3 separate regions of the Homo sapiens genome follow, and regions 2 and 3 are each linked to region 1. The links are contacts of gene promoters, found by promoter capture Hi-C in blood cells and fetal thymus (Javierre and others, 2016). All regions are on one chromosome and are shown on one strand. Each heading gives the region's core, a stretch centred on a gene start or on the middle of the fragment in contact. The rest is flanking DNA. Distances are from core to core; before and after follow the strand shown.

Region 1 (2,700 bases), core at 201-2,700:
AACAGCTCACATCTGTCCAAACTCCTTACCAAGCTAGCTAGAAGCATCCCCTCTCTTATAAGCCTTATGTGCTGTCTCCCTGCTAGTATGTTCCTTGAGGACAAGGATTTCGCCTTACTTATCACTATATTACCAGTGCCTGGAATAGTGCTGCTCATCCATTCGTAGGTTTTATACATTCAATTAATATCTATGATGCTCAGTAAATATTGAATAAGTGAATAAAGTATTCAGTGAAAGAACAAATACGTGACATGGCTCTTACCAGTTTAAATGGTGTGGTTATTTTCTTTTTCTTATATGAATCTTTTGCTCAAAACATACCTACTCATTGTTTCCTGAACACATCATTTACTTTGCCACCTCTGTGATTTTGCTCACACAATTTCTCCAGTTCGTAACACCCTTAACACTCTTCTCTGATAATCAAAGACCTTGACCTTTAAGGCCAAGCCAAGTACCACCTTCAGGGTGAATATCTCCCCAAGGACCCAAGATTTCAGTGACTTAGTCTCTCACCTTCTATTATTTTTATGGTCTCTATCTACTTAGCACACATCCCATATACATTTTCTATTTAAGGATATATTCTTTCTTCCCAACTAGATTTTAAATCTCATGAAAACAGCAGTCCTATTTTATTTCCACATTTATATTCAATTCCTAATCTAATATATATATAATTATATAAAATTATATATATATTTTATATACGATATAAATTATATATTATATATAATTATATGTATAATTTTATATATAATTATATATATATATATATATATATATATATATATATATATATATCCTATCCTCTTGCCCGGGCTGGAGTGCAGTGGCATGATCATAGCTCACTGCAGCTTCGAACTCCTGGGCTCAAGCAGTCCTCCCACTTCAGCCTCTTGAGTAGCTGGGACTACAGGCATGCACCACCACTCCTGGCTAATTTTTGTATTTTTTGTGGAGACAGTCTCGCTCTGTGGCCCAGGCTGGTCTTGAATTCCTGGGCTCAAGCAATCCTCCCACCTTGGCTTCCCCAAGTGCTGGGATTACAGGAGTGAGCCACCATACCCAGCCATAACAAGTATTTAGTAGTTTCTAATGATAGTTAGATTTTTTGCTTTGATATCATCATCATAAAAGATCTGGGGCACTCTTCAAACCTAATTTAGGTTGTAATTGAATAATGAAGCAGTTAAAATATGACAGTAATATTTCCATCAAACTTAATCCTATACGTTACGTTAATGTATCTGTATATACATTTACCATAATGTACACAGTCATTAATTATACATGGTTGTTGCTGTATGTTAATGTACTATGGTTCAGTTTTCAAAGGCAAATGTTATAGTGCATTCCAGGACACCTGTGTCCACGAGATAAGTTCTTTGAAACTATATTTGGATCTGCAGGCTATTAAAAGCTTCTTGTACTGAGTGACCTTTCAGGCAGAATGTAGACTGAGCGCTCCTGCTACTGCTGCCTGTTGCTGAGAGGAAGACCGCAGAAAATTCTGGATTCAAACATTTATTGCTTTTTTTGTTTTGCTTTGTTTTTGTTTTCTTTCCTTTTGCCTTCAGAAGATGAACAATGAAACCACAACCCTGATATCCTTGAAGGAGGCAATGAAAAGGTTGCTGAGGGCTATAGGGAGGGAGCAAGCATGGGTCTGCTATTCTGGGAAGATGGGTAAGAGAAGAATGAAGAATAGAAATAAAGAACTGCAGACATGCTCATTAGAATTCTGTCTCTGTGGCCGGTGCGGTGGCTCACACCTGTAATCCCAGCACACTGGGAGGCCGAGGTGGGCGGATCACAGGGTCAAGAGATTGAGACCAGCCTGGCGAACATGGTGAAACCCTGCCTCTACTAAAAATACAAAAATTACCCAGGCATGGTGGCGGGCGCCTGTAGTCCCAGCTACTTGGGAGGCTGAGGCAGGAGAATCACTTGAACCCGGGAGGTGGAGGTTGCAGTGAGCCGAGATCGTGCCACTGCACTCCAGCCTGGCAACAGAGCAAGACTCCGTCCAAAAAAAGAATTCCGTCTCTATTACAGTGGTTTAAGTCTTCCAGGCCCAAACCTATGTAAATTAACAATAAAGAAAAGTCTGCTCCCAGGTGCTGTAACTCCATTGAATGTATGCATATGCTAAATCCTAGATTTACAAAAATAAGTAAAATGTGGTTTCTGCCCTCAAGGAGCTCACAGCCTGTAGGAAAGAGAAAAGTTTGAAAAACATTTACAATTTAATGTGACTGACCTTACAATGGTGATGTTCCTAAAGGTCTATGCGAACATGAAGGGAGGATCAACCAATTTTGCCTTTGACACTAGAAAAAGGAACTCTTCATATAGGGTCATTTAAGCTGGATCTTAAAGTGCAAGTAGGAGCTTATGAGGGAGAAAAATATGGGAAGGCATTCTAGGCTGAGGAAACAGTGCATATAAGCCATATGTAAGCTTGGAACCACATAATGTATTCAAGCAGCAACTAGATGTCTCGTGTAATTGGTAACTAGGATGGGTGAGGGGACTGGTGGAAGACAGGAGCAAAGGGTGAAGGCCCTTGACTTTCCTGCTGAGGAGATCCAGTTTGCCTCTGAGTATATCACTGGGCAAGCCAGGATGACATAAACCATTTGTAATCAGTTGAGTCACAGAATCGGAATTGTGTTTTAGAAGAATGTGTCTGGA
Region 2 (3,254 bases), core at 246-2,745, 180 kb after region 1:
TCAGCCCTGGCCCTCCCCCAATGTTTAATTCTTCATGCTGTGAAATATTTCATTATTTATGTGTGATGTAAAGTAATCCCCCCTTAACTGAAGCTTTGCTTTCCAAAGTTTTAGCTATCTGTGGTCAACTGCAGTTCAAAAAACTTACATAAAATATTTTCAATGAGAAAGACCACATTCACATAACTTTCATTACAGTATGTTGTTATAACTGTTCTATTTTATTATTATTGTTGCGAACTTCTTACTATGCCTGATTTATAAATTAAACTTTATTACAGATATGTATGTATAGGAAAAAGCATAGTACAGACAGTCCTCTACTTATAGTGGTTTGACTTCTAAGTTTCCAACTTTACGACAGGTTTCTAGGGACCTAACTCCATCATCAGTGAACTCCTTACCCTTTATGATGGGATTACGGTTTCTACTGAATACTCATTGCTTTTGCACCATCACAAAGTCAAAAGTAAATTGGGACTGGGCGTGGTGGCTTACGCCTGTAATCCCAACATTTTGGGAGGTGGAGGTGAGAGGATCACTTGAGGCCAGGAGTTTGAGATCAGCTTGGGCAACATAGTGAGACCCTGTCTCTATAGAACTAAAACATTAGCCAGGTATGGTGGCGCATGCCTGCGGTCTCAGCTATCCGAGAGACTGAGGTGGGAGGATCACTTGAGCCCAGATCAGGGCTGCAGTGAACAATGATTGTGCTACTGCACTCCAGCCTGGGTGACAGAGCAAGACCCTGTCTCAAAAAAAAAAAAAAAAAAAAAATTGTAAGTTGAACCATTGTGAGTCAGGGACAGTCTACTGTGTTGCCAGCATTAAATGCCTTTTGAACTTAGGATATTTTGACTTACAACGGGTTTATAGGAGTTCGACCCCATCATAAGTGGAGAAGCATCTGAATATACAGAGTTTGGTATGATCTGTGGTTTCAGGTATCCGCTGGAGCTCTTGGAACATATCCCCTGCAGATATGGGGGACTATTGTGTGTGTGTGTGTGTGTACGTACACACATATATACGCACATTATACATTATATGTATATGATATATATGTGTGTGTGCATATATATAGAGCCTCTGATCCATATCTTTTATATATATATATATTTTTTTTCTTCCCTTCCCCTTCCCCTTCCTCTTTCCTTCCTTCCTTTCCTTTCTTCCTTCCTCCCTCCCTCCCTCCCTCTCTCCCTCCTCTCTCTCTCTCTCTTTTGCTCTGTCACCCAGGCTGGAGTGCAGTGGCGTGATCTGGGCTCACTGCCACCTCTGCCTCTCGGGCTCAAGCGATTCTCCTGCCTCAAGCTCCTGAGTAGCTTGGATTACAGGCGCACACCACCACGCAGTTAATTTTTTTTTTTTGAGACCGAATCTCACTCTCTTGCCCAGGCTGGAGTGCACTGGCGTGATCTCAGCCCCCCAGGTTCACGCCATTCTACTGCCTCAGCCTCCCGAGTAGCTGGGACCACAGGCACCCGCCACCATGCCCAGCTAATTTTTTTGTATTTTTAGTAGAGACGGGGTTTCACCATGTTGGCCAGGTTGGTCGGAAACTCCTGACCTCGTGATCCACCCACCTCAGCCTCCCAAAGTGCTGGGGTTACAGGCGTGAGCCACCGTGCCTGGCCTCTATACACATATTTTCTGATTAGGTGCAAAGCAGTGTGTTATAGGCGTGTCAAGAGCCTCAAGTGGCCAAGTGCAGTGGCTCACGCCTGTCATCCTAGCACTTTAGGTGTCTGAAGTGGGAGGGCCCTTGAGCCAAGGAGTTTGAGACCAGCCTGGGCCACATAAGGAGACCTCACCTCTATTACATTTTTTTTTCTTCTGAGACGGAGTTTCACTCTTGTTGTCCAGGCTGGAGTGCAGTGGCGTAATCTCGGCTCACTGCAACCTCCACCTCCCGGGTTCAAGTGATTCTCCTGCCTCAGCCTTCCGAGTAGCTGGGATTACAGGCATGCGCCACCACGCCCGGCTAGTTTTGTATTTTTAGTAGAGATGGGGTTTCGTCATGATGGCCAGGCTGGTCTTGAACTCCTGACCTCAGGTGATCTGCCGGCTTTGGCCTCCCAAAGTGCTGGGATTACAGGCGTGAGCCACTGCACCCGGCTAAAAATAAATTTTTTTCAATAAAAAATAAATAAATAAATTAAATAAATAAATAAATAGCGAGCCTTAAGGGGAGACAGACGTGTAACTGAACTGCACAGTGGGAACAGGCCACTTCCTGGGGATGTCATGACGCTGACTTTTTTCAGATCCACATTGACATGAGTCTGCCCAAATATTACTAGTCCTATTTTAATTCATATATATATGTATATATATATATTTTTTTTTTAGATAGAGCTTCACTCTTGTTTCCTGGGCTGGAGTGCAATGGCACGATCTCTGCTCACTGCAACTTCTGCCTCCTGGGCTCAAGCGATTCTGCTGCCTCAGCCACCCGAGTAGCTGGGATTACAGGTGCCTGCCACCACGTCCAGCAATTTTTTTGTATTTTTTAATAGAGACACGGTTTCACCATGTTGACCAGGCTTATCTCAAACTCCTGACATCAGGCGATCCACCTGCCTTGGCCTCCCAAAGTGCTGGGATTACAGGTGTAAGTCACCGTGCCCGGCCTTAATTCATATTTTTCTAAAAAACAAGAAGTTCACATATCAATGAAAATATAAAAGAGAGGAACATAAGGAGTGGAAGAGGCATTTTATAATTTATCTAGATATGACATTTTAATTGTAATTAGCTTTATTGATATATAGTTAAAATTCAATAAAATTCACCTATTTTAAGTGCAAAGTTTAATGAGTTTTGTCAATATGTACAGTTATGTATTCACCACCAGAATCTAGACACAGAATGCTTCCACCCCTTCAGAAAGCTTCCCATGCCCCATACTAATCCTCTTTCCCATTCTCAGCCCATGGCAACCGCTCATCTGCTCTCCGTTAAAAGTTTTGCCTTTTCTAGAATTTCGTATATATAGAAACATGTGAGTAGTCTTTTGTTTCTGGCTTCTTCCACTTAACACAATGCTTTTGAGATTCATCCATGTTATATGTAGCAGAAATTTACGCATTTTATTACCTAATAGAACTCATTTGTATGGATAACACAATTTGTCTTGATTCACCTATTGATTACTGATAAGGATTTGAGTAATCACAAATTTTTTAATTGATTTTTTATTGTGGTAAAGTAACATCAGATTTGTCATTTTAACCATTTTAAAGTGTATAATT
Region 3 (2,795 bases), core at 247-2,746, 220 kb after region 1:
AAACAAATGTGGATGGCAGGGATTCCATGAGCAAAGGTCATTTTTTTTTAGTAGTAAAATTTATTACTTTATCTTAAAGCCATTTATTAAAATTAAGCAAAAATAAAGAGGAATCTTTAAAAAGATGTTTCAGGCCAGGCGCGGTGGCTCATGCCTATAATCCCAGCACTTTGGGAGGCCAAGGAGGGCGGATCACCTGAGGTCAGGAGTTCAAGACCAGCCTGGCCAACATGGTGAAAGCCTGTCTCTACTAAAAATATAAAAATTAGCCGAGCATGGTGGCGGGCACCTGTAATCCCAGCTACTCAGGAGGCTGAGGCAGGAGAATCGCTTGAACCCCGGAGGCAGAGGTTGCAGTGAGCTGAGATTGTGCCACTGTATTCCAGCCTGGGTGACACACACACACACATAAAAGAGGTTTCATTGAAGTTATTATTTTATATTTACTCCAGAAAGGATTGCATCCTCTATTCGTCTACTCCCAGGTTGTGAATACATAGAGTCAGAGTTAGAGTAGAACAGAAACTAGATTGAGTAAATTAAGAGAGTGAGGCCAGGTGGGGTGGCTCACGCTTGTAATCTCAGCACTTTGGGAGGCCGAGGCATGTGGATCACTTGAGGTCAAGAGTTTGAGAGCAGCCTGGCCAACATTGTGAAACCTCTTCTCTGCTAAAAACACACACACAAAAAATTAGCCGGGTGTGGTGGTGCACGCCTGTAATCCCAGCTACTTGGGAGGCTGAGGCAGGAGAATTGCTTGAACCTGGTGGCGGAGGTTCCAGTGAGCTGAGATCGCACCACTGCATTCCAGCCTGGGCAGCAGAGCAAGACTCTGTCTCAAAAATTAAAAAAAGAAAAAAGAAAAAAGTAAAAAGAAATAAGAGGGGGATTCCATCTCCAGTTCTGTCACTTTCTAATTGAATGACTTCAGGTAAGTCATTGGATTTTTCTCACATTGTATCAGTGACATTAGGAAGCTGAAGTACATTTTCCCAAAGACTGGCTGTGACTGCCTAAGGATCATCTGGGAAGTTGTTTAAAATATAGACGCTGGGTCCCTATTCAAATAGATTCTGATCAAATAGGCCAGGGGTTAGATCAGTGAATCAGAATATTTAAAAAGTTCCCCATGATTCTGCTGACTGCCAGATATGGACACTGCTTATGTAGATGATTTTAAGGTAGCTTTTAGCTCTAAAATTCTATGGTCTCACCAAGGTTTTATTTTTATTTTTATTATTTTTTGAGACAGAATTTTGCTCTTGTTGCCCAGGATGGAGTGCAATGGCACAATCTCAGCTCACCACAACCTCCACCTCCCGGGTTGAAGTGTCCTGCCTCAGCCTTCCGAGTAGCTGGGATTACAGGCATGCACCACCACACCTGGCTAATTTTGTAATTTTAGTAGAGACAGGGTTTCTCCATGTCGGTTAGGTTGGTCTGGAGCTCCCGACCTCAGGTGATCGGCCCGCCTCGGCCTCCCAGAGTTCTGGGATTATAGGCGTGAGCCACTGCGCCCAGCCCCACCAAAGTTTTATTTTATGCTTAACTACCCTAGGGATCAGGGGCTGGACAGTGGGAAGTACTATGTAAATCTTAATTTATCAGCTATCTTTGGGGGAATAGTCAAGCTAAGAAGATGGTTTTTTTTGCCAGGCACGGTGGCTCATGCCTGTAATCCCAGCACTCTGGGAGGCCGAGGCGGGCGGATCATGAGGTCAAGAGATTGAGACCATCCTGGCCAACATGCTGAAACCCCGTCTCTACTAAAAATACAAAAATTAGCCAGGTGTGGTGTTGGGTGCCTGTAATCCCAGCTACTCGGGAGGCTGAGGCAGGAGAATTGCTTGAACCTGGGAGGCAGAGGTTGCAGTGAGGCGAGATTGTGCCACTGTACTCCAGCCTGGAGACAGAGCGAGACTCTGTCTCAAAAAAAAAAAAAAAAATGCATCTTGTTTGTTTGTTTTGAGACGGAGTCTCACTCTGTCACCTAGGCTGGAGAGTGGTGGTGCCATCACGGCTCACTGCAACCTCTGCCTCCCAGGTTCAAGTAATTCTCCTGCCCCAGCCTCCCGAGTAGCTGGGACTACAGGTGCATGCCACCACGCTCGGCTAATTTTTGTATTTTTTAGTAGAGACAAGGTTTCACTATTTGGTCAGGCTGGTCTCCAACTCCTGACCTCAGGTGATCTGCCTGCTTTGGCCTCCCAAAGTGCTGGGATTACAGGCATGAGCCACTGGGCCTGGCCAAAAAATGCATCTTTAGATGATACAATTCATTCATTCAACAAATAGTTCTGAGCTCCTATTATGTGTCAGCTTCTGCACCTGAGGGGCTAGGGACAAAATGATGAATAAGACAGGCATGGTTTCTGCCTATTAACATCCAGTGGGGGCCACTCAATACTCAAATGAACAAATATGTAATAAAAAACTTTAGGCTGGGTGTGGTGGCTCACGCCTGTAATCCCAGCACTCTGGGAGGCCGAGGCGGGTGGATCACCTGAGGTCAGGAGTTCAAGACCAGCCTGGCCAACATGGTGAAACCCCATCTCTACTAAAAATACAAAAACTAGCCGGGCAAGGTGGCGGGCGCCTGTAGTCCCAGCTACTTGGGAGGCTGAGGCAGGAGAATTGCTTGAACCCAGAGGGCGGAGGTTGCAGTGAGCCAAGATTGTGCCACTGCACTCCAGCCTGGGCGAGAGGGCAAGACTCTGTCTCAAAAAAAAAGCACTTTATTTGGGAGATTCCAGGAAACATTAGTAGAGGCAGAGGAAATGAGAAAGGAGGGAAAA

The links. Contacts are between HindIII fragments. The CHiCAGO score rates a contact against its expected background, and 5 or more counts as called.
Region 2: a contact is called between a fragment that was not itself captured here and the fragment with the promoter of SMCO1 in region 1, in 3 of 17 cell types (M2 macrophages, M0 macrophages and M1 macrophages). The highest score is 7.7, in M2 macrophages.
Region 3: a contact is called between a fragment that was not itself captured here and the fragment with the promoter of SMCO1 in region 1, in 6 of 17 cell types (M2 macrophages, M1 macrophages, M0 macrophages and 3 more). The highest score is 8.2, in M2 macrophages.

What each region holds. Positions count from the first base shown.
Region 1 is chr3:196,514,096-196,516,795 of GRCh38, reverse strand. It overlaps SMCO1 (single-pass membrane protein with coiled-coil domains 1), which reads left to right and starts at 1,450. Exons shown (of 3, transcript NM_001077657.3): 1 at 1,450-1,636. The coding sequence starts at 1,587. The HindIII fragment of the contact is 1,040 bases long and covers 1,429-2,468 here.
Region 2 is chr3:196,330,372-196,333,625 of GRCh38, reverse strand. All of the region lies in intron 1 of TM4SF19 (transmembrane 4 L six family member 19), which reads left to right. All of the region lies in intron 1 of TM4SF19-DYNLT2B (TM4SF19-DYNLT2B readthrough (NMD candidate)), which reads left to right. Among named protein-coding and RNA genes, the nearest start is that of TM4SF19, 6.4 kb to the left of the region's middle. The HindIII fragment of the contact is 2,800 bases long and covers 96-2,895 here.
Region 3 is chr3:196,292,798-196,295,592 of GRCh38, reverse strand. All of the region lies in intron 4 of DYNLT2B (dynein light chain Tctex-type 2B), which reads left to right. Among named protein-coding and RNA genes, the nearest start is that of PCYT1A, 6.5 kb to the right of the region's middle. RefSeq lists an enhancer at 2,757-2,795. The HindIII fragment of the contact is 7,362 bases long and covers 1-2,795 here.